Regions from separate parts of the Homo sapiens genome. Here all the other regions are linked to region 1. The links are contacts of gene promoters, found by promoter capture Hi-C in blood cells and fetal thymus (Javierre and others, 2016). All regions are on one chromosome and are shown on one strand. The core of a region is centred on a gene start or on the middle of the fragment in contact, and the rest is flanking DNA. Distances in the headings are between cores, read along the strand shown.

Region 1 (4,820 bases), core at 651-3,150:
ATGTACCTTAGACAGTTGCTGTAAAGATCAAATGAGGTCCACACAAAAACTTCTTTTTTTTTTTTTTTTTGAGACGGAGTCTCACTCTGTTGCCCAGGCTGGAGTGCAGTGGCACAATCTTGGCTCACTGCAACCTCCACCTCCCGGGTTCACGCCATTCTCCTGCCTCTGCCTCCCGAGTAGCTGGGACTACAGGCGCCAGCCACCATGCCTGGCTAAATTTTTGTATTTTTAGTAGAGACGGGGTTTCACCGTGTTAACCAGGATGGTCTCGATCTCCTGACCTTGTGATCCGCCCACCTCGGCCTCTCAAACTGCTGGGATTACAGGCGTGAGCCACTGCACCCGGCCACACACAAAAACTTCTACACAAATGTTCATAGCAGCATCATGTATAATAGCCAAAAAAGTAGAAACAGATGTCCATCAATGGATTAATGGATAAATAAAAGATGATGTCCAGCCAGGCACGGTGGCCCATGCCTGTAATCCCAGCACTTTGGGAGGCCAAGGCAGGCAGATCACTTGAGGCCAGGAGTTCAAGATCAGCCTGGGCAACTTGATGAAACCCCGTCTCTACTAAAAATATAAAAATTAGCCAGGCATGGTGGCACATGCATGTAATTCTAGCTACTTTGGAGGCGGAGGCATGAGAATCACTTGAGCCCAGGAGGTGGAGGTTGCAGTGAGCCAAGATCACATAACTCCACTCCAGCCTGGGAGACAGAGTGAGACTCTTCAAAAAAAAAAAAGGTGATGTCTGTATAATGGACTATTATTCGGCCGTAACAAGGAATGAAGTGCCGATACATGCTACAACATGGATGAACTTTGAAAATATTATACTGTGTGCAAAGGAAGGTAGTTACCTTCCCGGGTTCAAGCAATTCTCCTGCCACAGCCTCCCCAGTAGCTGGGACGACAGGCGTCCGCCACCATGCCCGGCTAATTTTTGTATTTTTAGCAGGGACGGGGTTTCACTATGTTGGCCAGGCTGGTCTCGAACTCCTGACCTCAGGTGATTCACCAGCTTTGGCTTCCCAAAGTGCTGTGATTAGAGGCATGAGCCACCCCACCTGGCCTAGCAGAGAGCAATTTTGAATACAGCTGTTAGATTCTGCACTCATGCCTTCTCTAATCCATGTCACTGGAGTAGAAATAATTGCTTTGACAGAACCTGGTGTAGATGTGTCTGTAGGAAGAAACTGTAAAATGAATGGATCATTTTGTGAAATATCTGCCCTTTCCCCACCTTTCTTTTGCTTCTTTGCCTTTTTCTCCCTAGTTTTCATTTCTTTCTTTTAGGGCGTCAGCCCCCCACCTCTGTGGTTGGGAGGGACTATTGCACGTCTACACTCTCGTGGGGATGAAATAGTGTTTGAGTTCGTTATTTGCATTTGCGCGTTATCTCCCCGAGGAGATGACAGCTTCTCTGCCAGCAGCGGGCAAAGGTGGGCTCTGAAGCAGAGGAGAGGAATTATCAGGAAAAGCTCATTTTCTTCTCCTGTCCTAGGGTTTCACTGATGAAGGCCTCTGGGACACCCACGTTGGGGGTGGGGGCGGTGAGGACCGCCACCTGCCCGCGGCTCCCCTGCAGCCAGGCCACGCGCGCTGTTGCTAGGGCAACCACCCGGCCAGGCCTGCGGCTGCCGGGAAGCCCCCTCGGGAGCGCGCACGGGAAGGGCTGTGGGGGCGCTGGCCGGCTGCGACGTCAGACCCCCGCCCCTCGGCGCCTGCCGGACCCAGCTCCATTCCCAGCCGCGCCTCCTTCGGTGGGCAGCCGGCCGGAACTCACGAATCAGAGCAGCCGACACATCGTCCGCTCAGCCAATCGTAGCAGATGTGTGATCCCGCCACCTCCCCGGACCCTGGCGGTTGTCGCTGAGTTGGCGACCGCGGGAGACGCTGCTGAGGCGGCTTCGGTTGCGGGTCGGAACGGCGCTGCTCTGCGGGGCCGGTCCAGGCTGGCAGCTGCCGGCGCTTGGCGGTGAGGGCGGGCTCCCGAGTGGCCCCCCACCGAAGGCGGTGGGACCAGCGGCTGAGGCCAGGATGCCGTCCAGGCGGCGCGGCGGCTCCTCACTCATCCCAGGTAAGGGGGACGCGGCGCTCGCTGCGGCTCCGCTCCCCTCTCGTCTCCTCACACCCGGCCCTGTGCCCCGTCCTGGCATCCCTTGGCCCCTTGTCGCCTTCTGCTCGGTGCCTCCCGGTTGTCCAACCCCGCCCCCGAGCGCGGAGCCCCGGGTCTGGCCCGTCCGGCCCCTGCTCCCACGCCCCTTCCCCCATCGCCGGCATTTCCCGGGCTCGGCTTCGCCCCGGCCGCCGGGGCCTCTCCCCTCTGCCCTTTCTCTCCCTTCTCGCAGCCCTGGGACCACGTCCTAGCCCCGCAGTCCCCTGGGATGAGACCCTCGTCTCGCCGGGATCGGACATTTGCCCCCACGTCTACCCCGGCTGCGCTTCTTGAGCTCATCGCCCCATCATCCTACCCGTTGTACGTAGTCCTGTCTGCATGGCAGTCGCCCGCCCCGCTCCAGGTGTCCCTGGGTCTTGCCCTTTTGCTCCTAAGCACCTTCCTTTCCCAACTCGCCTCTTCTCCCCTCACTTTGACCACCCACCATCGCAATCTCCTCTTCCTTCTCTTACTCTTAAACCTCCAGACACTTTCCCACTCTCTGCAATGCCGGATTCATCGCTTTTTTTTTTTTTTTTTTTGAGAGATGGAGTCTCTATGTTGCCCAGGCTGGCTTCGAACTCCTGACCTCAAGCTATCCTTCTGCCTCGGCCTCCAAAGTGCTGGGATTACAGGCGTGAGCCACTGCGCCTGGCTCAGATCCATAGTGTAATATCTTCATTCGTCCTTACATGAGCTGCACCCCATAACATGTAAAGTCCCTTGCCCAGAGTCTAGCACACAGTAGGCCTGGCACATGGTGGGTGGTCACGCATGTTAGCCTCTTCCTCCTTCCAGGCGTTTTGTACTTTCCAGATGATGGTAGCAAGAAGTCCAGTGTCCACAGGGATTTGACTCTGCCTGAAGAATGGTATGGGAGATGGCAGGAGAAATTGGTGAACTCCAGTAAAGCGATTAAATGGTCAATTACTGCATTCATTAAGAAGAAACAATTCTGCTATCCGTGCCATGTATTGTTTTATGTTAATTGCCTTTGTAAAGGATTCTTAGGCTGCTAGTCAGCAGGCTTTGCGGTGTAATTACTCCCCATCCCCTCTCCATCCCCATCTGCAGTGTTTGGGTAACTTTCTTTTTAGGAAAGAAAGAGCCCCTACCTCCCAGCTAAAGTGGCATAGTATATAAGCAATGTGGTACGTGTTTATCTATTAGCTGGATAGTCCAGGGAGCTGCAATGAATTTTCATCTTTTAAGATCCAGGAGGAATCAGGATTTGGATTTCCTGGAATCAGCTGCTGTACAGACCAAATATGCTTAAGAATGAAACTTCTGACAAGTCCTCTAAGAGTGAGAGAGGAATTATCCACCCCTCTCCCTCCCCCTCTCCAAACACTCGCTCTTGGAGGAAATAGCGAGTCGATTTTTAAAAAAGAGTAAAATACGTTTGACTTTTTAAAATGATAAAAGCATTGTCATTGGCCCTGTACTATTCTTGCCACCTTTGCTCTGATGGTCTCAAGCCTGGACGAATCAGTCAGCTTTTTCTGCTCCTGGGCTCCCAAGGCAGACTGGCAAAAATCATATAACTAAACTGCTGGGTGCTGTTTCTGCACTTCTGGATCCTGGAGATCCTTTGACTTAACCTCTAGATTCCTCTTATGTCCTAAAATCTAAATGGCTGTTTATGGATCTTTACCATTTTTCTCTGACTCTTTGTCCTACTCTTGCCTTCTCTTCATTGCTTATTTTGCCACTTAACTTCACAGAATAAATTGGTGGGCATCAGCCCTGAACTCTTAAGGAGAGGTCATTTTTGTCTGTGCCTGTCTGTACCTGATTTCTAATATCCTTTCCTCTGATCTCAGAAGAAGAGGGGTCTTACTTTCGAAAGCTAACGTCTTTGATCTCTTCCCATATTATTATTTTTTCTGTTGGATGGTATACATCCTCAGGTTTCCACCATTCAGACCAAAACAAAGCTTTTCTTGATGCTTCCCTTTTCTTTTTTTATTCTTCTCAGATTAACGTGGCATTCCTTAGGGTTTCATTTTTGTTCTTTTCTCTAATTTCCTTGTGTGATTACACTTCCTTTCATGGCTTCAAATAGCACCTATATATTTATGGTTTTCAAAGACGTCTATTTAGTCCCCGTTTCTCTTGAACCTCAGGTTCTAATTTTCATCTGCCTACTGCATAGCTGTATGTGGATGCTTGATTACTTCAAATGTGGTTACCTTTTCCTTCCCTTTCTCTCCACCCATAGCCCCCTTTAAGCACATATACAAACATTACTATTTTAAGATCTTTACTCTAGAAACCTTAAAATCATCTTCTTTTCTCCTCACATTAAGTCTAGCATAGATCCTATTGTTGTTGCTACCTCAGATCTTTTTTTTTCCTCTCTTCATAACATCTTTTTTTTTTCTCTCTCTTCATTGCCAGAAGACTGGTTCAGACCTTGGTTATGCTTTTTCTGAACCTCTGGGTCCTGTAGTCTACTTAATCCTCCACGTTGCTGCTGGAATTGGTTCCATTTCTGAACTATCAATCTGATCATGCTGCTTGTTTTCTTTAAAAATTCTCATCAGCTCCCAAACCCTTAGCATGTTGAGCCAGTCCTTCCAAGCCTTCTGTAGCATGGGCGCATCCCCTTCCTGGGCCCTTTGTGATCCAGAGAAAAAAGCAGTAAAGAAAC
Region 2 (4,820 bases), core at 1,519-4,018, 240 kb after region 1:
TATGTTAAAAACTAATGAAAGGAAGAGGATACTCTGAAACAATGAAATAGAGCTTAAGTGGTTATACCAATGTTAGACAAAGTAAACTTAAGAACATGGACCATATTATCAAGAACACAGAGAGGTATCTCATCATAAAAAAGGGGTTAATTCTTCAAGAAAACACAGCAATCCTAAATTTGTATATACTAATAACACTGTTTCAAAACACATAAAACAAAATTTGATAGAACTGAAAGGAGAAACAAATTCACAATGATATTTGGAGATTTCAATAATCCTCGCTTAGTAATTGACAGAGAGATATTTTTAAAAAGTCAGTAAAGACAGAAAACTTGAATGATGTTATTAACCAACTTGACCTACCTGACATTGACAGAACACTCAACCCAATAAAAACATAATACATATTCCATCTGACAAAATAATAATGGTAGTATAAACTTACATATAGGTAATGTCTATTATGCACTAGGTACTTTTACAATGCTATTTTGTATAATCTTCACAAGTCTATCAGGTAGTACACTTATGATATTTACAAATGAGGAAGCTGAGGCTTGAATATGTTAAGTAACTTGAATAATGTTGCAGTCACTTATAAAGACTGGAATTTGAACCCAGGTCTGTGCACTTAAATCCAAACCCTGAGCTGTTGACTATGCTATAACTACACCTCAGTAAGCCAGAGAGGACTGAAGACTCTTTAGAATAACACCAATCCCTCTGACTTTGGAGGTCTGTACACCAGTCAAAGACAGGAAAACCCTACTCATTTCCTTTATTGCTTTGCTTACAACATGCTTCCCTCCCACACATACTTTTCCAAAGGACACTTTTGCTTAAAAAAGAAAAAAAATCTCCTTTTAAAATGTAAATGAAGATTAATTCTATTAGCTAGTTATGACCATACAAGTTACTAAAATCAACACTTTGTTGTTTTTCTCTAAGCTTCCTAAAAATCAACCCCTATTAAGAGGCCACAAGTTTGGATTAGAGAGGGGAAAGTGAGAGACAGTTCAGGTGTTTGGTACACAGGGAGGAGGTTAGTTATGTTTGAACAGCCAATAGGGATTCAGTGTGTAAGGTGAAAGAAGTGAAGAAGAAGGAAATATGGAAAAGAACAACCTCACCCACATTACAGTTCATAGTTTTGGCTAGGGCTCAAATGGCAAGTGCTTGCTCTTCAACTTAAAGTCACCTTGCGTTTTTGTTTGTTTGTTTGTTTGTTTTTTTAATCAGGGTCTCGCTCTGTCACCCAGGCTGGAATACAGTGGCACGATCACAGCTCACTGCAGCCTCAACCTCCCAGGCTCAAATGATCCTCCGACCTCAGCCTCCAGAGTAGATGGGGCTACAGGCACTAGCCCGGCTAATTATTATTATTTTTAAGAGATGGAATCTCACTATGTTACCCAGGCTGGTCTTGAACTCTTGGGATCAAGCGATCCTCCTGCCTCAGTCTCCAAAATGCTGGAATTACAAGCATGAGCCACTGGACCAAGCTGCACCTTATGTTTTTAATACAGAAACAAAGCTTGTATTTCAGGAATAGCAAGTAGACCATGATTATCAAGCCTTCCATTGCCCAATCTCTCTCTTTTTTTTTTTTTTTTTTGAGGAGTCTCACACTCTGCAGCCCAGGCGGGAGTACACCGGCGCATTCTCGGCTCACTGCAACCTCTGCCTTCCAGGTTCAAGTGATACTCCTGCCTCAGCCTCCTAAGTAGTAGGGATTACAGGCATGGGCCACCATGCCTGGCCAATTTTTGTATTTTCAATAGAGACAGGGTTTTGCCATGTTGGCCAGGCTGGTCTCCAACTCCTGGACTCAAGTGATCTGCCTGTCTCGGCCTCCCAAAGTGTTGGGATTACGGGCGTGAGCCTCTGAACCTGGCCTGTCTCCATGCTTCTTCCACAGCCTGCAGAACTGTGAGCCAAATGAACCTCTTTCCTTTATAAGTAACCCAGCCTCAGGTATTCTTCTATAGCAATGCAAAGGGATTAAGCCATTGTTTTATGTACCTTACAGGATAGCTACCAAATTCAGGAAAATTTACATTGATAAAATACTTTTACTCAATTGAAAATCCATATTCCAAGTTTCTCAATTGTTCACAATGAGCAGTTCACAATTTTCCCAACCTTTGTTTCTCTCAGCATGACACTTCTGAAGAACACAGGCCAGGTATCTTGTTGAATGCCATTTAGATTGGGTGTCCTCATGACTGGATTCAGGTTGTTAAAAATTTTCGGCTTAGATATTTCATAAATGATGTTGTGTTCTCAAAGTGTCATGTCTGGAAGCACACATGACATCTATCCTTGCCTCCTACATCCCCATTTTATAGTTACCATTTCTCTATTTATAATTAATAAATAATCTGGCTGGGCATGGTGGTTCACACCTGTAATCCCAGCACTTTGAGGCTACAGTGGTGGGATCACTTGAGGCCAGGAGTTCAAGACCAGCCTGGGCAACACAGCGAGACCCACCTCCCGTCTCCACAAAAAAAGGAAAAAAAGAAAAATAAACACATAAATAATTCATTGGCAGTGAATTTGAGATCATGTTCGTAACTTGTTTCCTGGGAAACTCCCTCCCCTCATCCAAGATTTAGCACCCAGATAAACTTTACCTGAATCAATTTTTGCTACTAACATGACTATAACCTCTCATTTGTGTATTTCTCTATTTTTTTTTATTTTTTTTTTATTTTTGAGATGGAGTCTTGCTCGTTGCCCCGGCTGGAGTGCAATGGCATGATCTCGGCTCAGCACAACCTCCGCCTCCCGGATTGAAACGAGTCTCCTGCCTCAGACTCCCAGTAGCTGGGATTGCAGGCATCTGCCACCACGCCTGGCTAATTTTGTATTTTTTTAGTAAAGACGGGTTTCTCCACGTTGGTCAGGCTGGTCTCGAACTCCCAAGCAAAGGTGATCCACCCACCTCGGCCTCCCAAAGTACTGGGATTACAGGCGTGAGCCCCCGTGCCAGCTGTATTTCTCTATTTTACTAGTTAAATTAACACACGGATTATTATTTTGTTCAGTTATACTTCATTTATTGTCCTTATTTATTGATTTCTTCACTTTATTTTTTTTTTAAGACGGAGTCTCGCTTGTTGCCCAGGCTGGAGTGCAGTGGCACGATCTCAGCTCACTGCAATCTCCACCTCCTGGGTTCAAGCCATTCTCCTGACTCTGCCTCCCAAGTAGCTGGGATTACAGGCACACACCTCCACACCTGACTAATTTGGTATTTTTAGTAGAGATGGGGTTGTGCCAAAAAAAAAAAAAAAAAGACAGAGATGCGGTTGCACCATGTTGGCCAGGCTGGTCTCGAACTCCCGACCTTAGGTGATCTGCCTAACTTGGCCTCCCAAAGTGCTGGGATGACAGGTGTGAGCCACCGTGCCCGGCCTTATTGTCCTTGTTTATTTTGACACTCAAATTATCCCAGACTTGGCCAGTGGAAACCCCTCCAAGCTGGCTTCTAGATCTTCTGAAATGTAACCAAAATATTGAAGGGGCCTTTTTTTCCCTGCCCCAGCCCCAGAATCAGTCATTTCTCTAAGAAGCCCTGGCTCACTTTAATGAATAATACTATTTAGAATCTAAGGTCTGGGTGGTATTGGTATTTTAACTCTAAAAAAGAAAAGATACGCTTTGGAGGATCACTGTCTTTAGATCTGTTTGTGAAAGAGGTACACAAGATTCTACTTGGGATGACAAGATTATAGGAGTTCTGAAAGAAAAGGGCACTTTGGAATGTATAAGCAAGTGATCTCAGCTTGGCCAACCACTATGACTTCCTCTATACAGCTCACTCACCATGACTGTGGAGACTAAAACACTTTAACTGAGTCTTTACAGTCAAGACATTCCATTTACTTTCTCTGAAAGTGAATCCAACTCTAAAAAAATGTGAAAATATTCTTCAAATTCCTTAGAAGGTTATTTGTATTTTGTCTGCTACCAAGCTGCTGTGTATGGCGAAAAGCTTTCCTTTATGTTACTAACAGAAACAAGCAAAATACCAAGAGCAAGGGCATCACGGACTAAAGAAGATCAAGAATACAAAATCCAAAAAGTCTGTTTCTAGTCTAGACCCAATACATTAAAACTGCACTTAGGCTAACCTTATCCAAACACGATGGCCAAACAAGTAATCAGTGTGAAATGCAAAATTTACCTGGCTAACTTATATTAAGTGATCTGTGAAACAAAGACATAATGGAATCTTCTCTTCTAACATAAATTTTCAAATACTTTAAGATCTTTATCCCCAAAGCTTTCTACTGACAAAAAGCAACTAAAGAACAAAAAATAGAAAGTACAAATCTACCATTCAAAAAGATGCGGGGTGGGGAGAAACAAGAACAAAGGTAAAAACCATTCTGCATACACATTTTTAAAATAAAAGTCACTTGGATTGTTTCTTTTTTTAACTAATTAATTTTTTCAAAGATGGTGTCTCACTCTGCTGCCTAGGCTGGAATACAGTGGCACAATCACAGCTCACTGCAGCCACTAACTCCTGGGCTCATGTAATCCTCCTACCTTAGTCTTCCAAGTAGCTGGGATTATAGGTAGGTACAAGCCACTGCACCCAACTCGAGAATGGTTTCTTTTTAAAGTACAGACTCTGCACTAAATTGTAAATCTTCTTTCCATAGTATCATGCACACTGTACAGAGGCTTTTGGGACACAGGTTTTTAAAACCACCAAGGAGAGTCAGCGAATATAAATGACAATTATGTACTTAAGTAACAGAAACTTGATTATATATATATATTTACTATTTATTATATACATT
Region 3 (4,820 bases), core at 905-3,404, 200 kb after region 1:
AAACAGTTTCTCAAAAGGCTAAATGTACAACATCATAGAATGCAACAATTTCTCTCCTAGGTATATATCCCAGAAAAATAAAAATGTATGTCCACACAAAAACTTGTACATGAATCTTCATAGGAGCATTATTCATTAACAGCCAATACATGGAAACAACCCAAATGTTCATCAACTGAAGAATAAATAAAATGTGGTGTTTCTGTACCATGGAATATTATTCAGCCATAGAAGGAACGAAATACTGACACATGCTATGACAGGAAGGAACTCTGAAAACACTGTGCTAAGAGGGAAAAAAAAAAACAGCCACAAACAATCACATATTGCACAACCCTATTTATATAGAAGGTCCAGATTAGGCAAATCTATGGTGACAAAAAATAGATCAGTGGTTGCCTATGGGGAACACAGAAGCGTTGAGGGGAGTAAGCCACTAGCTTACTCCCCGCCATGTTCTTAGCTAGTGGCAAAGAACAGCGGATTTCTCTATAGGGTAATGAAAGCTTCTAAAATGGATAGTGGTGATAGATCACAGCTCCATGAATATTCTAAAAACCACTGAATTGCATACTTTGATAAACAAATTGCATGGTATGTGAACTACATTTCAATAAAGTTGTTATTTAAAAAAAGAAAATAGCAGACTGGACCCAGATGGCCCATGGCTGCCTATAATCCCAGCACTTTGGGAGGCTGAGACAGGAGGATCAATTGAGGACAGGAGTTTGAGATCATCCTGGGCAGCATAACACGATCCCATCTCTACAACAAAAAAATAAAAAATTTAGCTTTGCATGGTGGTGTACGTCTGTAGTCCAAGCTACTTGGGAGGCTGAGGCGGGAGTACTGCTTGAGCCCAGGAGTTTGAATCTACAGCGAGCCATGATCACACCACTGCATTGCAACCTGAGTGACAGAGCAAGATCCTGTCTCTAAAAAGGAAAGAAAAGAAATGCAAGTTTTTATCACTTTGTGAGAGTAACCAAGTTTGTAGAGAAACACATAAGAACAAGAGCACTGAATGGTGAGAGTGGGAGGCTGGTTAGGCTCATTGCTAGCTAAGGGACTTCTGAAAAATTCATTAGTAAAATCACAGCTCTGGGGGTCAGTCAGGCAGCCAAATGATGAATGTTAAATCCATTACAAATGCCCATCGTCTTTCTTTACATCCCTTCTAATGAAAAATTCCTAACTGCCTAAATAGCAAGTGTTCTCAAATGATAGCAGCTGTTTATTAAAGAAATAACACCTCAAATTTTAAAAACCATGAGTCAAATATTATTTTCTTCCTCCCATTTTATATGTGTGCAACCTAAAGAATAGAGAATTTAAGTAATTTTTCTAAGTGGCAGAGCACAGATTTAAATCCTATTACCTTGGCCTCAGAGTTTGTGCTTTATTTTATTTTATTATTTTAAAATTCACCTTTTTTAAAACCAAGAGGCTTATGCAAAATTCTGCTAGGATTCAAAAAAAGCCTCTTGCTTTTCCTGACTGTGGGTGCAGGCAGGGCTCATGCTGCATTTTCTTTACTTATAATTGGATGGAGACATGATGGATGGAGACATGACGACAGGAGCTCTCTTGGTCATTGTGCACCAGAAAGGAGAGTGAAGAGAGGCACAGGGAAGCCAGTCTTACCATGTTTGAGCAACTGAACCAATGTCAGCCTCAGCCTACCTGCACAATTACTTTTATGTGAGAAAAACAGGCATCTCCCTATTTTGATAATCACAGCTAGCTATAGTAGCAAACAATCCTCAAGTTATTCTTGGTAACATTATTCCTACAGCCTCAATCCTTTTAACTCATTATATTAGCTGTTCATTTCTCTGTTTTTCCTGACATCTAATTGACAACCAAAAGCTTATGTTATTAAATAAGCTTTGGATTAACGGGATCAATGAATGAAGAGTTTAAAGATAGCAAAAAAAAGTTCACAGAAGTACCTGCCAAATGTGCCAACTGACTACTATGAACTAATTTACTTTTGAGAAACATGCTATTTCTTATATGCTACTGACAGTGCCTATAAAAATGGTGCACATTAACTGGCTGTTTTATTTTCTCCCCAATCTTAATATCTAATATCCACAGACTGAGATTAGAGCACCAACGTATACAATGTAACTTCATACTAGAGTTAGAAGGGGATACAAAGTGTAGAAATCATAATCTTCTCCATAAAGTTCCTGTCACCTTGGAATTAACCTCCCCTTTACATAGTCTCATTGTTCACCTTGTTCACATCTTCATGGGTTCAGGCTCAGGTCTCTGTGGTCGCACAGTGTGTCTTTTTACCAAAAGGAACACCTCATGCACTTTTCCAAAAGGAGAAAAGTAAAGGTTTGAATGGATTTTTAGTTCTCGGCATTTTTGAACAGAAATAATCAGGTATTAAGTTGCTCAAAGATCCCCACAAGCTTTCATAGGAGAAACATCTAATTCATAACCAAGAGTTTATGTTATTAAGTAAGCTTTCCTTTAACAGGATCAATGAATGAAGAGTTTAAATACTCGCTCTAATCCCCATTCAGTCATCTGGTATACTCTCTGTGAGATATACTCTCAGTCATCTGGTATACTCTCTGCGTATGCCAGATGATTAAATGGAAATTATTGCACCACTAAACACCAGTACTGCAAACTCTTATTTAAAAAATCAACACCTAGGACAGAAAAAAATGATCCTAGGCTGGGCGCGGCGGCTCACACCTGTAATCCTAGCACTTTGGGAGGCCGAAGCAGGCAGACTGCCTGAGCTCAGGAGTTTGAGACCAGCTTGGGCAACATGGTGAAACCCCATCTCTACTAAAATACAAAAAATTAGCCGGATGTAGCCAAGCGCGGTGGCTCACGCCTGTAATCCCAGCACTTTGGGAGGCAGAGGCGGGTGGATCATGAGGTCAGGAGATCGAGACCATCCTGGCTAACACAGTGAAACCCCGCCTCTACTAAAGATACAAAAAAAAAAATAGCCAGGCTTGGTGGCGGGCGCCTGTAGTCTCAGCTACTCGGGAGGCTGAGGCAGGAGAATGGCGTGAACCCAGGAGGCGGAGCTTGCAGTGAGCCGAGATCGCGCCACTGCACTCCAGCCTGGGCGACAGAGCGAGACTCCGTCTCAAAAAAAAAAAAAAAAAAAGAAAAAAAAAATTAGCCAGATGTGACAGTGTGCGCCTGTAGTCCTAGCTACTCGGAAAGTTGAGGCAGGAGAATTGCTTGAACCCAGGAGGCTGAGGCTGCAGTGAGCAGAGATCATGCCACTGCACTCCAGCCTGGATGACAGAGCGAGACTTTCATCTCCAAATAAAAAAGAATGATCCTAACGCAGTTATTTCCTTTTGCAATTATGAGGAGATGGAAGAAATACCCATATTTGATGGTTGGTTGGGAACTGTCTTTGGTATTGTATGAAGTATTTTAATACTGTGAACATGAAAAGATGAGAACCCTGCAGACCCCGTGGGCATGGAGAGAAGGAAGTACATTAGAGGGTGTCGTAGGAAATACTTTGATTCCAGGCACTGCTGTTTAAACCACCCCTCAACTTCCTTTCCTTAAAAGAATAAAAAAAAAAAAAGCAGACAAAAGATGAAACATTCCATGTGACCCTCTGCACCCTTATTTGTTGTAATAAAGGAAAAGCATTTTAGGGATTTTCTTTAGTGCAGTTTATGATGTGATCCATGTTATTTACTCCCTGTTAATAATTTTCAAAATTTCAATTAAAGACATTCAGAAATTTAGCTTTATCACAGGCAGCTGTTCACAGGTAAAACTAGTTTGGTTACCTTCATCTGTATAAACATGAAGCTAGTGAATTGACATAACTATTAAACTGGAGAATTAACAGAAACATGGCAAGGACTGGCCCTTACCTTCCACAGTGACCTCAATTTCAGGAACCTTTTCATTACTCTCAGGGCTTCGTGGTCTTTTTAGAAACTGCGAAGCTGTAAAATAGAGCACAGAATTACTTTAGTATATTGTAGAAAAAAATACAGAAGGAGATGCTTTATAAGAGCAGAGCATTAAAATTCTTTCAGTTTGACTCTTTTCAAAGAAACCTGCAGAATTAAACTTGTAGTGTAATCCTCCACAGGGGGCTCAACAAAGCCATGGAAACATGAGTGAAGTGGGATTGCAAATGTGACACTTCCAACAAAATTTTTTTAAAGAAAAAGAAGTCCATTAAATAAAATACCTTAAAAAGGCAAGAAACTAACTGCAAGTCCCACAAAGATAGTGGACAATGATTCTGTGTGATTTAAAAAATGCTGATATAGAGTGTCTTAATGCAGTGAAATATAATACGAAATACAGGTAATCTCTTACCTTTAGTGTTTATTTTATTAGCCACTCCAGGAGGTAACTAGGAAATAACTAGTTCAGGTCTAGAAAGAAACTTACTTTTTACCAACAATGGTGGCCTCACAGCTAGTAAAACGGTTGTGATATGACCAGGGTTTTTTCCTAAAGCTGATCACAGAGTCATCCTGTAATGTCACAATAATTCCTATCATTGTGGATGAAAACCCTGACTTTTCCTTCCTATGACTGGCAAGTAATTGTCTGAAGAGTAAATTACTTCTTTCATGAAAAAGAAAATTAACACTAGTGTACTTTCTTCAGCCACTAAAGTTCTGCAGAAATGCAGATATAATAAGAAAAACTCAATCATCAGGCCAGGCATGGTGGCTCACACCTGCAGTCCCCATACTTTGGGAGGCTGAGGTGGGTGGGTCACCTGAGGTCAGGAGTTTGAGACCGGCCCGACCAACGTGGTGAAACATCATCTCTACGAAAAATACAAAAAT
Region 4 (4,820 bases), core at 1,072-3,571, 170 kb after region 1:
CAGATCACCTAATCCACATATCAAGGCAGGAATTATAGTCTTTATTTTCCAGTAGAGAAAACTGAGGCTTAGAAGCATTTGTTAATTCTAGAGTTACACTGCCACTGCCAAAACAAGTGGCCCCTCCCAGCAGCCTGCCCACTGCTGGTCTTATCAAATTCAAACCCCACTTCCACCCCCACATCTGTGCGCAAGAATGTTCACACACGCACACACACACACACAAACACACACACATTTCTGCAATATTTCATCTTCTTAGGCCAGGAACTTATCATGACGAACCAAATGCAATACCTATTTCCTGACCAAAGCTGTTATTCAATATCTCTATCATTTGAGAAATAGTTTGATTTCACGTTGACAAGGGTCACACTGAGGTCTTAAGAGAAGTAACAATTACAAAGCATCCTAGTCCCTGTGAAAGGGTGTGATGTTCAGATACATCCAGCCCTTTAAGATGCTCTGCTGGAAGGTGGTTGAGGTGCAAAGTACTATTGACTCATGGTCATCTTGGTCCATGGTCATTAATAATGATACTTTGTACTTCTTTTGTCTTTGTTCTAAGGGTGGTTTCAAAACCTGGAAGAAGCTTATCAGTTTCTAGGTATTCAGATATCTCTTTCACAATATATATGTGTGTGTGTGTGCGCTATGAAAATATACACACACATATATTCATATACAAATATATAACACATATACATATATATATTTACAGTATACTAATCAAAAAGCAAGTTCTTTTTTTTTCTTTTGGACAGTCTCACTCTGTCACCCAGGCTGGAGTGCAGTGACACGATGTTGGCTCACTGCCACCTCCTCTCCCCGGGTTCAAGCGATTCTCCTGCTTCAGCCTCCTGAGTAGCTGCGATTATATCACACATGGCTAACTTTTGTATTTTTAGCAGATACAGGGTTTCACTGTCTTGACTAGGCTGGTCTTGAACTCCTGACCTCGTGATCCACCCACCTCGTCCCCTCAAAGTGCTGGGATTACAGGCGTGAGCCACCGTGCCCGGCATAAAGTAAATTCTTAATGATCTATGAAAAGAAAATGGCAGGCCAGGTGTGGATCCCACCTGTAATCCCAGCACTGTGGGAAGCTGATGTGAGAGGATCGCTTGAGCCCAGGAGTTTGAAACCAGCCTGGGAAACATGGTGAGACTTCCTGTCTAGAACAAATATAAAAATTACCTGGGCATGGCGGCTCATACCTGGGGTCCCATTTATTCAGGAGGCTGAGGTGGGAGGATCACTTAAGCCAAAAAAGCAGAGTTTGCAGTGAGCCGAGATCACACCACTGCACTCCATCCTGAATGACGAAGCAGTACCCAGCCTCAAAAAAAAAAAAAAAAAAAAAAAACCGGAAAAATTGGTATCAAAGAAAAATTTAAAGTATCTATATTTACATAAATATATATAGTCATAGAATATTAAGCAAAAAGTAAATTATTAATAGTTCATGACAGAAAAATTGCAGGCAGGGCATGATGGCTCATGCTTGTAATCTCTGCACTTTGGGAGGCCCAGGCAAAAGGAATGCTTGTGTCCAAAAGTTTGGGACCAGACTGGGCAACCTAGTGAGAAAAAACCTCATAAAAAAAACAGAAATCAGCCAGGCATATTGGCATGTGCCTATAGTCTCAGTTACTGAGTTGGGAGGATCACTTGAGGCCAAAAGGCCAAGGATGCAGTAAGCCATAATGACATGACTACACTCCAGCCTGGGTGACAGAGTAAGAACCTAAGGAAAAACAAAAAGAAAAAAAGAAAAGAAAACAGTAAATAATATAAAAACAGAAGAAATGAAGTGAGAAGCTACCATCTCCGGGGCAAAGACAAAGGGCCAAAAATTCATTCCCACCCTCACCCCCAGCAGACAAAAAAACACCATGGGACATTAAATAAAACAGAAATCACTGAAACCACAGAGAAAAAATTTATTATCAATTCGTCAGAAATCCACTCTCAAGGTTAAAAGAAGAGATGGGGTTTTCCCAAGGCACTCTGGTGTGAAGTGAAAAAAATGACAGACCAGGGAAGATTTAGTCTCCTTGATGAGGTTCACCATGGAAGACGTAAAAGCTGTATCCCGAAGAAGGGAATACAAGGCAAGAGCAAAACCAGAAAACGCAATCATCAGGCAAAAGCGAGGCCTTGAGTGACCACTATGAGGCAGAAGATGGGCGTGAAGAGACAATCCTGAGACAGGGGCTGGTGTAAGAGAGGGCCCAAAAGAGGCCAGTATGGGGCAGGGGCCGCGCCCCTCAGGGCCTACGCCGGGCAGGAGGTGGGCCTGGCGAGGCCTACTTTGGGACGCTTTGGGCCACTTTGGGCCACATCGAGGAAGGCAGCTTGGGGCCGGGAGGCGCCGTCAGGCTGGGTGGGAGCTGGGCCCGGAGAGGCCACCGCGAGGCATGAGCTGGGCCCAGAGGGGCCAGCGTGAGGCAGGAGCCGGGCTGGTGGAGGCTGCCGGGAGGCCGGCACGAGCGTGGCAGGGGAAGGCCGCCGGGAGGCGGGAGCTGGGCCTGGAAAGGCTGCTGCGAGGTGAGGCAAGGTGAGGGGAGGCGAGGCGAGGCAAGACGCGGCCCTGGAGAGCTGGACTGGAGGAGGCTTCGGGCCTACGAAGGCCGCCGGGAGCTGGGCAGGAGCCGAGTCGAAGGAGGCTGTTTGGAGACGGGAGCTGGGCCCACGGGCGCAGACGCGAGCAAAGAGCTGGGCCCGGAGAGGAGGCCGGGAGGCAGCCACTGGACCGGGGGAGGCCGACTTGAGGAAGTTCTGGGCCTGGAGAGGCCACCACAAGGGAAAAGCTGGGCCTCAAGAGGCCGCAGCGAGGCACGAGCCGGGCCTAGAGAAGCCTTCGGGACGCAGGAGCTGGGCTTGTGGCGCCTGCCGGCAGGCAGGAGCCTGGCCTGGGGAGGCCGCGGCCGGGCACGAGATGAGCCTCCTCAAGAGGCCCCCGGCAGGCGGGAGCCGGGCCTGCCGGGGCTGCCGTGAGGCAGGCGGAAACGTGGCCTGGGGAGGCCGACGTGAGGCCGCAGCTGGGCCGGGAGAGGCCGCTGGCAGGCAGGAGCCGGGTCTCTCAGGGCCGCCGGAAAGCCGAAGGTGGGTCCGGGAGGCCTGAACGCAGGGAAGCCTGGGGCCTACAACGGCTGCCAGGAGCTGGGCAGGAGCTGGGCCGAACGTGGTTGTCGTGAGGCAGGAGCTGGGCCCGTGGAGGTGGCCGGGAGAGCTGGGCCTGGAGAGGCCGACGGGAACCAGTTCTGGGCCTGGAGAGGAGGCCGAGGGGCAGGAGCCGGGCCTGGAGCGGCCGCCAACAGGCAAGAACTGGGCCTGAGGTGGCCAGGCTGAGGCAAGAGCCCGGCCCCCATGGGCCACTGTGCGGGAGAAGCTATGGTTGTTCGGGCATCCAACACACGTGCTGTTCCTGGCGAGGCTTATTTCAGGACGATTTGGGCCTGCAGAAGCCATTATCAGGAGGCAGTAGCCTGGCCTATAGAGGCTGCGAAAATTTAAATTCTTGACCTGCAGAGGCCATGATCACGTAACATCTAGGCCTGGAGGGTCCACTGTCAGGCAGCGGCGCATCCTGAAGGGGCCTACAACAGGCAGGATCTCGGCCTGTGGAGAGGCATCCCCTGATCCTAAAGAGGCCAGTGTGAGTGATCACATGGCCCACAGAAGCAAGTGTCAGGCCAGATCGTCGCTTGGAGAGTCTGAGAAAGGCATGAGATGGACCTAAACAGACCATTGCGATTCAGCACCTGGGCCTATAGAGGCCAGTGTGAGGCAGGAGCTTGACCTGGAGAGGCTGGAAGACGTATGAGCTTGTCCTAAACTGTCCAGTGTGAAGGAAGAGTTTGGTCTGTCAAGGCCGTCGGGTAACAGGCTGTAACGTGGACTGGGAAAGCAACTGTGAGGCAAGGGCTGGGCCTCGGGAGGCTGGGGGAAGGCAAGACCTGGGCCTGGGGAAGCCATCGTCAGGCAGTAGCTGGGCCTGTGAAGGCCCCTGGGCAGCATGATCTGGGCCTGGAACGCTTGACTTGAGGAAGCTTTAGGCCTACAAAGGCCGCCAGGTGCTGGGCAGGAGCCGAGCCAAAATAGGTTGTTTTGAGTCAGGAGATGGGACTGTAGACCCAGCTGGGAGGAAGAACTGGGCCTGGAGAAGGCACAGGGAGGCAGCAACTTCACCTTGCGAAGCCGAACTGAGGAATTTCTGGGCCTGGAGAAGCCACCAAAGGGAAAAGCTGGGCGTGGATAGGCCGTTTTGAGGAATGAGCTGGGCTTCAAGAGGCAATGAGATGCATGAGCTGGGCCTCTAAAGGCTGCCAAAAGGCAGGAGCTTCATCTGGGGTGGCCACCTTGAGGGATGAGATGAGCCTAACCAGGCCATTAGAGGCAGGAGCTGGGCCTATCGGATCCTGCCATGAGGCAGGCAGAAACTTGGTGTGGGAAGGCCGGCATAAAGCAAGAGTTGGGTCCATCAAGGATGCCACAATGCAGGCAGAAACCTGGCGTTGGGAAGCTGCCATGAGGCAAGAGCTGGTCCTGTCAAAGCCGCTGGGAGGCCAAAGGTGGGCCTAGCAAAGTTGACTTTAAGAAGTCTGGGGCATATAGAGGCCACCAGGTGCTGGGCAGGAGCTGGGCCAAAAGAGGGTGTTGTGAGGCAGCAGTTGGGCCTGTAGACACAGCCAGGAAGAAGAGCTGGGAATGGAGTGGCTGATCTGAGTACATTGTGGGCCTGGAGGGTATGCCAACAGGCAAAAGCTGGGCCAGGAAAGGCTGCCGTAAGGCATGAGCCTGGCCTAAAGAGTCCA
Region 5 (4,820 bases), core at 810-3,309, 150 kb after region 1:
CAGCTACTCGGGAGGCTGAAGGAAGAGAATTGCTTGAAGCCAGGAGGCAGAGAGGTTGCAGTGAGCCGAGATTGCAGCACTGCACTCTAGCCTGGGTGACAGAGCGAGACTTCGTCTCAAAAATAAATAAATAAATAAATAAAAATAAAATCTGATATTGATAGTGATTTTTTCTCATAGTTTACTTGCTGACCTTTGTTTTTTTTTTTTATATAATGTTTTTATTTTTACTTTATATAATGATGTATTGTGCATACTCCATACCAGGCATAAAATACCAAGGATTTTATTTGCATATATATAAGATGATATATATATAACAGATACGCTAAATTATATATACATCTATATATAAAATTGTATTCAGTTCTCAAACCACTCTGGCAAGCTGGTAGTATTCCTGTTTTGCTAGTGAGAAAACAGGTTGAATGTGACTTGCGGTGCGTTGATGGATTATAGACATAAGAAGCACATGGACGCTGGTCCGTCATGTCAAAATCCCAGATGGCAGCAAGCTGCTAATATTGACAGGTTCTAGGATTCAGGTTTCCTTTTTGCTGAGGAGCAAATGCTGAATGTTAGTCTTATGCCCTGTGGGTCTGCATATTTAACAGCAGTTATCAGGCCTTGGCTAATTTTGTTTATACAAAATGCTTTCAAACTTCATAGGTAATCTCCCTGCCCGCCCCACCAAACACACACAAGGCCTCATTTCTTTACCAGCGTGTTGTAGGATGGACCGCATCAGCAGTTGCCTCTGCAGCATTTCACCCTGGCTTGTGTGTGGAGGTTGGGAGGGGCCAACCTGTGCTGAGGAGGACTCAGGAGAACTGGGGACACAGCAAAGCCCTTAGGATGGATACTATCTTTCTTATCTTTTGGGTCCCTTTGGCATTTCAATAACAGTATCTGTGTTCTCTGGAGCTTCCTTTAAAGAACCTTAGGATCCATTTCTTCACGTGAGGAGGAATCAGGGTGCTGACCCCTGGACACTTAAAGAACCTTAGGACCCATTTCTTCACATGAGGAGGAATCAGGGTGCTGACCCCTGGGACACTTAAAGAACCTTAGGACCCATTTCTTCACATGAGGAGGAATCAGGGTCTTGACCCCTGGACACTTAACCTTAGGACCCATTTCTTCACATGAGGAGGAATCAGGGTGCTGCCCCCTGGACACTTAAAGAACCTTAGGACCCATTTCTTCACATGAGGAATCAGGGTGCTGCCCCCTGGACACTTAAAGAACCTTAGGACCCATTTCTTCACATGAGGAGGAATCAGGGTGCTGCCCCCTGGACACTTGAAGAACCTTAGGACCCATTTCTTCACATAAGGAGGAATCAGGGTCTTGACCCCTGGACACTTTAAGAACCTTAGGACCCATTTCTTCACACGAGGAATCATGGTGCTGACCCCTGGACATCTGGTGCCCCTGACAGTGCCCCCACAGTAGCAACAATAGCAGATGACAGTCAGTTATTTAGAAATGGGCAGGAGCAGCCCTGGTTTTGGCCATCTGCTTGCTTTGCACCCAGCAGCTACTTGCATGCATCTGAAAGCACCAGAGTGAGGGTGTGTGTGCCTCCCAGGCAGTCTTCCTGAGGCAGCTGTTCTCAACATCCATCCTCCTGGCCCCTGATCTGCAGGAACCTCCCCAACCGCCTGGCTTGTCTAGGCCTGTAGCTGGGAAGGAAGAGACGAAGACACAGGGAGAACACACCGGGACTCCACACCTGTAACCACATTCTGTTTGTTCGCCCTAGGAAAGATTGCTGCCTTTTCAGCAGAAGGGAAATTCCTAGGATTGGCTGTCCCCTGCCAAGCTTGGTGGAGCGTCTGCACCTTGGCTGCGCCGCCTGTGCATTTGCCAGTTTCCTCCCACTGAGAGGATGGAGGTGTCCGCACAGCTTTGGGCCTCGTGAGGGATCTGCCTCCTGAGCAAAGAGCTCTTGATCCCGATTTCATGCACAGCCCTGCAGTAAGGAGCCCAGAAGGAACATGTGTTTCCTGTTAAAACTCCTCTTGTTCTCTTTTCTTACATTATGACGTTTGTTTTCAAGGAGAGGGTTTAAAAATGGGATCCTGTAAGCAGACTTGGGCAGTCTCCTTTTGAAATAGGTTGTCTGTACATGTTCTAATGTTTTGTAGAACACGTGTGCCTGTTTAAGTGTATTGATGTGAATAATATTAAATATCCTAATTATTTAATTCATTGTATTGTTTCTGAGAAGTTGGGAAATTACCATTATACATTTACAACCTAATGACTTTTGTATTTTATTTTTCAAAATAAAAGCTTTCAATGTGAAGCATTCTGGTAGTTACATGTTTTCATTAATGTGATTTCAGAGAAGCACAGACCTTATCAGATGCTGATGTGATAAACCAAAGTTTCCTTGGTTGGCTGTATTGTAGATACTCCCCTGGAGCCATCACCTTTTTTTGGAGGGGGGTGGTGGGTAGAGGCAGGGTCTCGCTACATTCCCCAGCCTGGGCTCAAACGATCCTTCTGCCTCAGCCTCCCAAAGTACTAAAATTACAGGTGTGAGCCACGGTGCTTGGCCTGCATTATCATTTTGTAGTGAAGTTTTCTTTTTATTTCAAGAGAGAACCTATTGCCATCCACTTTGAGAATCCTGTTCTATTTCATGCTTGCAGACTGTATTTAAGGACATGGAAGTTACTATTTCCACTTGTTTTCTAGAAGCCTTTGTTATGAAACCCAGGATGTCCAGATAGTAGTAATAATTCCCATATTGAGTGTGTTCACATATGTGCCAGCCATGAAAAGGGTATATAACATGTTATCCCATCTCTGCCCCAAAACTTGTACCTATCCATTTAGGTCATATCCATATCAGTAACTGCAGTATTTTCTACTGTCACTTGAGCCAGAAACTGAAGAGTCACACTTGATTTCACCCTTTTCCTCCCTCTTTCCATTCGCATCCAAGATCTTTGATCCTACCTTCAACGTATTTTTTGGATCACAGCAGAATAAGAGTTTTTAGAATGCACATCTGGACAGGAGCCTCCCCGCCTGAAACATTTCAGTGGCTTCCATTTCACTTAAAAGAGTCCAGACTCCTGTCAGGGCCGGCAGGGTCCTCCTCTCCATCTCATCGCAGGCCTCTCTCCCAACCTCACCGCTTGTGCTCTAGAAGTATCTTTATTTTCAGAACATAGCAAGTTCTTCCTGTCTCTACATATCTCCTCTCTCTGGAATGTTCTTCCCTTTGGCTATTTAAGATGAAGTTTTGCTCTGTCACCCAGCTGGCCTGCAGTAGCACAATCTCGGCTCACTGCAACCTCCGCCTCCCAGGTTCAAGCAATTTTCCTGCCTTAGCCTCCCGAGTAGCTGAAATTACAGGCATGTGCCACCACGCCCGGCTAATTTTTGTATTTTTAGTAGAGACAGGGTTTCACCATGTTCACCAGGCTGGTCTTAAACTCCCAATCTCAAATGATCCTCCCTCCTCAGCCTCCCAAAGTGCTGGGATTACAGGCGTGAGCCACCACACCCAGCCCCCTTTGTTCTTTGTCTGATAGGCTCCTTCTCAATTCTGTGGTCTCGGTAAGCCTCACTTACTCAGAGGGATTTTCCCTGGCCTCTTAAACTAAAAGGTAATTCTCCCGCTGCTTGCCTTCTTCATGGTCACACTTTGCAGTGTTTCATCTGTTTGTTGCCTTTTTTATTATCTGTCTCCTCCACCAGCCAATAAGTTCCTGGAGTTCCAAGACTATGTTTTTTCTTGTCTGTTGTACTTTTGGCACCTAGCAAACTGGCACTTTCTAGAAACCAAGTAAGGCCGGTCGCAGTGGCTAATGCCTGTAATCCCAGCACTTTGGGAGGCCGAGGTGGGCGGACCACAAGGTCAGGAGATGGAGACCATCCTGGCTACCACGGTGAAACCCTGTCTCTACTAAAAATACAAAAAATCAGCTGGGTGTGGTGGCGGGTGCCTGTAGTCCCAGCTACTTGGGAGGCTGAGGCAGGAGAATGGCATGAACCTGGGAGGCGGAGGTTGCAGTGAGCCGAGATCACACCACTGCACTCCAGCCTGGGTGATAGAGCGAGACTCCGTCTAAAAAAAAGAAAAGAAAAGAAAAGAAACCAAGTAAAATACTTGGTGAATTACTAATCCTCCAAAGAGCCTTCTGACATACATACTGTTTTACAGATCAGGAAACAGGCTCAACTAGGTCAGGTCACTTACACAAGGCCCCCCACCTAGTGCCACAGGTGACTTGGCATGTAGCTGGGCCCAGGCACAAGCCTGACTCTAATGTCCTCTGCAGTCCACTTCCCTAGCCCTGTCCCTTTCCATTTAAAATGAATATGTCCAGCCTGGGCAACATAAGGAGACCCTGTCTCTACAAAAAAAATTTTTTTAATTAGCCAGGCATGGTGTGCACCTGTAATCCCAGTTACTCGGGAGGTTGAGGCAGGAGAATTGCTTGAACCTGGGTGGCGGAGGTTGCAGTGAGCCAAGATCATGCTACTGCACTCCAGCCTGGGCGACGAGGGAGAATCTCTCAAAAAAAAAAAAAAAAAATTAAAAATACTGCTGTCAGATCAATCTTGTGTTTAACACTGTTTTAAGTCACTCATTTGCTCCAAAACCTTTAATTCTCCAATGCCTAACATTACATCTAAATGTCTAAGCTGGCCAGGCATGGTGGCTCACACCTGTAATCCCAGCACTTTGGGAGGCCAAGAAGGGTGGATCACCTGATATCAGGGGTTGGAGACCAGCCTGGCCAACATGGTGAAACTCCATCTCCAATAAAAATACAAAAATTAGCCAGGTGTGGTGG
Region 6 (4,820 bases), core at 1,428-3,927, 130 kb after region 1:
AAATAAAAGAATTGGTGAGCTTCAGGACAGAACATATGAAATTACCCATTCAGAGGAGCAAGAATAAAAAAGGGTAAAGAAGACCTACAAGAATTGTGGAATACCATCAAGCAGACTAACCTCTGCATAATAGGAATTCCTGAAGATGAGGAAGAAAAGGGTGTAGAAAGCATACTTAAGCAAATCATGGCTGAAAAAGTCCCAAATCTAGAGAAAGATGACACTGTCTAGGTACAGGAAGCTCAGTGATCAGCAATTAAAATCAACCCAAAGAAGAGATACCTATGGCACATAACAATCTGGTTAACAAAAATCAAAGACAAAGAAAGATTACTCAAGGCAGCAAGAGAAAAGAAATGTGTCCCATTCAACATACCCCAATAGAGCTTTCAGCAGATATCCCAGCAGAAACCCTGTAGGCCAGCAAAGAGTGGAATGGTATATTTAGAGTGCTGAAGGAAAAGAAAAAAACTGCCAAGCAAGAATACTGTACCCAGCAAAGTTACCCTTTATAAACACAAAGGCAAGATAAAGATTTTTCCAGACAAACAAAAGTTGAGGGAATTCATCAACACCAGACCTGTCTTACAAAAAATGCTAAAGGGAGCTGTTCAGTCAGAAAGTGAAGGATGCTAATGGGTAAAAAGAAAGCATCTAATGGCATTAAACTCACCGGCAAAAGAAAGAAAACTCACTGGTAAAAGAAGACTTCTGAAAAATTCAGAATATTGTAATACTGCAAATGGGATGAGTAAACCACTTATATTTTAAGTATGAAGACTAAAAGACAAATTTTTTTTTTTTTTTTTTTTTTTTTTAAGACAGAGCCTCGCTCTGTCACTCAAGCTGGAGAGTGCAGTGGTGCAATCTCAGCTCACTGCAACCTGCACCTCCTGGGTTGAAGTGATTCTCATGCCTCAGCCTCCGAGTAACTGGGATTACAGATATGTGCCAACACACCTGGCTTATTTTTGTATTTTTAGTAGAGACAGTATTTCACAATGTTGGCCAGGCTGGTCTCGAACTCCTGACCTCAGGTGATCCGCCCATCTCGGCCTCCTGAAGTGCTGGGATTACAGGCTTGAGCCACCATGTCCGGCCGACAAAACTATTAAAAACAGTAACTACAACGGTTATTTAGGAGACAGACAATTGTTTAAGCAATAAAAAGATTAAATCAAAACATCAAAAAGTCAAAATGGCAATGGCGGTGTTAAAGTATAGAGTTTTTGTTACTTTTCTTTGCAAAGTTAAGTGATTATCAGTTTAAAATAACCTATTATAAGATTTTTTTGTAAGCCTCACAGTAACCATAAAGCAAAAACCTATAATAGATACACTAAAAATAAATAGCACAAAATCAAAGCACGCTGCTAGAGAAAATCACTTACCATAGAGGAAGACAGTAAGAGAGGAAAATAGGAAGAAAGAATCTACAAAGCAACCAAAAACAAGGAACAGTATGGCAGTAGTAAACCCTTACCTGTCAGTAATAACTTTGAATATAAATGGATTAAATTCTTCAATTAAGAGTGGCAGAATGGATTAAAAAACAAGACCCATCCATATGCTGGCTACAAGAAACTCACTTCATCTGTAAAGATAAGCACAGACTGAAAGTGAAGGTATGGAAAAAGATAATTTATGCAAATGGAAACCAAAAAAGAGCAAGAGAGCCTATAGTTTTATCACATAAAATAAACTTAAATCAAGATGGTTAAAAAAAAGACAAGGCCATTATATAACGACAAAGGGGTCAGTACAGCAAGAGGATATAACAATGGTAAATATATATACACCCAACACCAGAGCACCCAAATATATAAAGCAAATATTAATAGACCTAAAGAGAGAGATAGACTGCAATACAGTAATACTAGGGAACATCCACACTTTCAATGTGAACAGATCATCCAGACAGAAAAGAAACAAAGAAACGTAGACATTAAACTGTACTCTGGACCAAATGGACCTAACAGATATTTACAGAACATTCCATCCAACAGTTGCAGAATACACATTTTTCTCAACAGCACATGGAATATTCTCCAGGATTGATCATACATTAGGTCACAAAACAAGTTTTAACAAATTTTTAAAATTGAAATTATATTTATCTTGTCACAGTGGAATAAAACTAGAAATCTATAATCAGAGGAACATTGGAAACAGTACAAATTAATGGAAATTAAACAACAAATGGACCAATGAAGAAATTTTAAAGTAAATTTTAAAATTTCTTGAGACAAATGAAAATGGAAACAAAATACCAAAACCTATGGGATACAGCAAAAGCGGTTCTAAGAGGGAAGTGTATAGCAATAAACGTCTATATCAAAAAAGTAAAAAGACTTCAAATAACCTAACGATACACCTCAAGGAACTAGAAAAGCAAAACCAAACAAACCCCCAATTTTTTGTTCTTTTTTTCTCCGTGAAAAAAGGCATCTAAAAAACAAACCAATGTTAATAGAAAGAAATAATAAAAGAGCAGAAGTAAATGAAACCAAGACTAAAAGAATACAAAGATCAATGAAATGAAAATGTTTTTTTGAATAGGTAATCAAAATTGGCAAACCTTTCAGAAGACTAAGTGTTGGGGGGTGGTGGGTGGGGGGAGAGAAGACCCAAATAAGCAAAACCAGAGGTGAAAAATGGGACATTGTAAGTGATACCACCGATATACAAAAAGATCATTAGAGACTACTATGAACAACTATACACCAAAAAATTGCAAAGCCTAGAAGGAATGTGTAAATTCTCTGACACATACAACCTACCAAGATTGAATCAGGAAGAAACAAAAGACCTCAACAAACCAATAATGAGTAATGAGATTGAAGCCATATAAAAAAAGTCTCTCAACCAAGAAAAGCCCAGGACCTGTTGCTTCACTGCTAAATTCTGCCAGACATTTAAAGAACTAATACCAATCCTACTCAAACTCCTCAAAACAAAAATTTTTTTGGAAGAGAAGGGATTACTTCCCAACTCATTCTACAAGGGCAACATTACCCTGATACCAAAACCAGACAGGATGCAACAAGAAAATGACAGGCCAACATCCCTGATGAACACAGATGCAAAAATCCTCAACAAAATACTAACAAACCAAGTGCAACAATACATTAAAAAGATCATCCTGGGATACGAAGAGGGGAAGAACAGACTTACTTGAGGGTGGGGGGTTGGAGGAAGGAGAGGATCAGAAAAAATACCTATTCGGTACTATGCTTATTACCTGAGTGATGAAATAATCTGTACACCAAGCCTCTGTGACACACAGTTTACCCACATAACAAACCAGCACATGTACCCCTCAACCTAAAAAAAAAAAAAAAAAAAATCATCATGATAAAGTGGAAATCCGAGGGATGCAAGGATGATTCAGCATACCCAAATCAATAAACATAGTACATTACATTAATACAATCAAGACCAAAAACCATATGATGATTTCAATAGATGCTCAAAAAGCATTCAGTAGAATTCAGCATCCCTTCTTGATAAAAATTCTCAACAAACGGTATAGAAGGAACATACTTCGGTGAGGTGTAGTGGCTCATGCCTGTAATCCCAGCAATTTGGGAGGCTGAGGTGAGTGGATCCCTTGAAGTCAGGAGTTTGAGACCAGCCTGGCCCACATGGTGAAACCCCATCTCTACTAAAAATACAAAGCCTGGGTGATAGAGCGAGACTTTATCTCAAAAAAGAAAAAAAAAAGAAGGAACATATCTCAAACCATATATGACAAACCCACAGCTAACGTCATGTTCAACAGTGAAAAGCTGAATAATGAATAATTTTTCTCTAAGATTAGGAACAGACAAGGATGCCCACTCTAACCACTTCTGTTCAACTTAGTACTTGAGGTCCTAGCCCAAGCAATTAGGCAAGAGAAAGAAATAAAGGGTACCCAAATTGGAAAGGAAGAAACCACATTATCTTTATTTGCAGATAACATGATCCTGTATTTAGAAAAACCTGAAGACTCCTCCAAAAACTGCTAGAACTGATAAACAAATTCACTTAAGTTTCATGATACAAAATCAACATAACAAAAATCTGTAGCATTTCTATACATCAACAGCAAGCAATCTGAAAAAGAAATCAGAAAAGCAATCCCATTTACATAGCTACAAAAAAAATAAAATACCTAGGCATGAACTTAACCAAATAAGTGAAGAATCTCTGTGATGAAAACTGTAAAAGACTGATGACAGAAATTGAAGAGGACATATAGAAAATGAAAAGATACTTCATACTCATGGATTAGAAGAATTAATATTGTTATGGAGTTCGAGACCAGCCTGGCCAACATAGTGAAACCCCATCTCTACTAAAAATAGAAAAATTAGCCAGGCCTGGTTGTGGGTGCCTATAATCCCAGCTACTCAGGAGGCTGAGGCAGGAGAATCACTTGAACCTGGGAGGCAGAGGGTGCACCAAGCCGAGATCATGCCACTGCACTCCAGCCTGGGTGACAGAGTGAGACTCCGTCTCAAAAGTCAGTATTACCCAAAGTAATCTACAGAGTCAGTATAATCTCTATCAAAATACCAATGACATTTTTCACAGAAATAGAAAAAACCTAAAATTTGTGTGGAATGACAAAAGACCTTGAATACCTAAAGCTATCCTGAGCAGAAAGAACAAAGTTGGAGACATCTCACTGCCTGACTTTGAATACCACAAAGCTATGGTAACCAAAACACCATGGTTCTATATATATGTGCACACATTTTATACACACATAGGTATATAAAACACCTACAAATTTTTGTTTTTTGAGACAGAGTCTCGCTCTGTTGCCCAGGCTG

What was found. The method cuts DNA at HindIII sites, captures the fragments that hold promoters and counts their contacts. A CHiCAGO score of 5 or more calls a contact.
Region 2: a fragment that was not itself captured here is called in contact with the fragment with the promoter of TPST1 in region 1 in 3 of 17 cell types (M2 macrophages, M1 macrophages and M0 macrophages); the score reaches 7.3 in M2 macrophages.
Region 3: a fragment that was not itself captured here is called in contact with the fragment with the promoter of TPST1 in region 1 in 5 of 17 cell types (M2 macrophages, M1 macrophages, M0 macrophages and 2 more); the score reaches 12.2 in M2 macrophages.
Region 4: a fragment that was not itself captured here is called in contact with the fragment with the promoter of TPST1 in region 1 in 7 of 17 cell types (M2 macrophages, M0 macrophages, M1 macrophages and 4 more); the score reaches 18.7 in M2 macrophages.
Region 5: a fragment that was not itself captured here is called in contact with the fragment with the promoter of TPST1 in region 1 in 6 of 17 cell types (M1 macrophages, M0 macrophages, M2 macrophages and 3 more); the score reaches 18.0 in M1 macrophages.
Region 6: a fragment that was not itself captured here is called in contact with the fragment with the promoter of TPST1 in region 1 in 6 of 17 cell types (M2 macrophages, M1 macrophages, M0 macrophages and 3 more); the score reaches 15.0 in M2 macrophages.

What each region holds. Positions count from the first base shown.
Region 1 is chr7:66,203,434-66,208,253 of GRCh38, forward strand. TPST1 (tyrosylprotein sulfotransferase 1) reads left to right here and starts at 1,901. Exons shown (of 6, transcript NM_003596.4): 1 at 1,901-2,089. RefSeq lists silencers at 1,524-1,793, 1,944-2,303. The HindIII fragment of the contact is 8,515 bases long and covers 1-4,102 here.
Region 2 is chr7:66,443,379-66,448,198 of GRCh38, forward strand. It overlaps the pseudogene RABGEF1P2. Among named protein-coding and RNA genes, the nearest start is that of LINC00174, 45 kb to the left of the region's middle. The HindIII fragment of the contact is 2,466 bases long and covers 1,536-4,001 here.
Region 3 is chr7:66,403,409-66,408,228 of GRCh38, forward strand. It overlaps the pseudogene GTF2IP9. Among named protein-coding and RNA genes, the nearest start is that of LINC00174, 5.4 kb to the left of the region's middle. The HindIII fragment of the contact is 539 bases long and covers 1,886-2,424 here.
Region 4 is chr7:66,374,136-66,378,955 of GRCh38, forward strand. It overlaps LINC00174 (long intergenic non-protein coding RNA 174), which reads right to left. Exons shown (of 5, transcript NR_026873.1): 5 at 1,909-4,820. Among named protein-coding and RNA genes, the nearest start is that of LINC00174, 24 kb to the right of the region's middle. The HindIII fragment of the contact is 3,463 bases long and covers 591-4,053 here.
Region 5 is chr7:66,358,130-66,362,949 of GRCh38, forward strand. TPST1 (tyrosylprotein sulfotransferase 1) reads left to right here. Exons shown (of 6, transcript NM_003596.4): 6 at 1,766-2,314. Among named protein-coding and RNA genes, the nearest start is that of LINC00174, 40 kb to the right of the region's middle. RefSeq lists a silencer at 4,331-4,495. The HindIII fragment of the contact is 473 bases long and covers 1,824-2,296 here.
Region 6 is chr7:66,336,508-66,341,327 of GRCh38, forward strand. The region is part of intron 3 of TPST1 (tyrosylprotein sulfotransferase 1); the gene reads left to right. Among named protein-coding and RNA genes, the nearest start is that of LINC00174, 61 kb to the right of the region's middle. The HindIII fragment of the contact is 5,399 bases long and covers 1-4,820 here.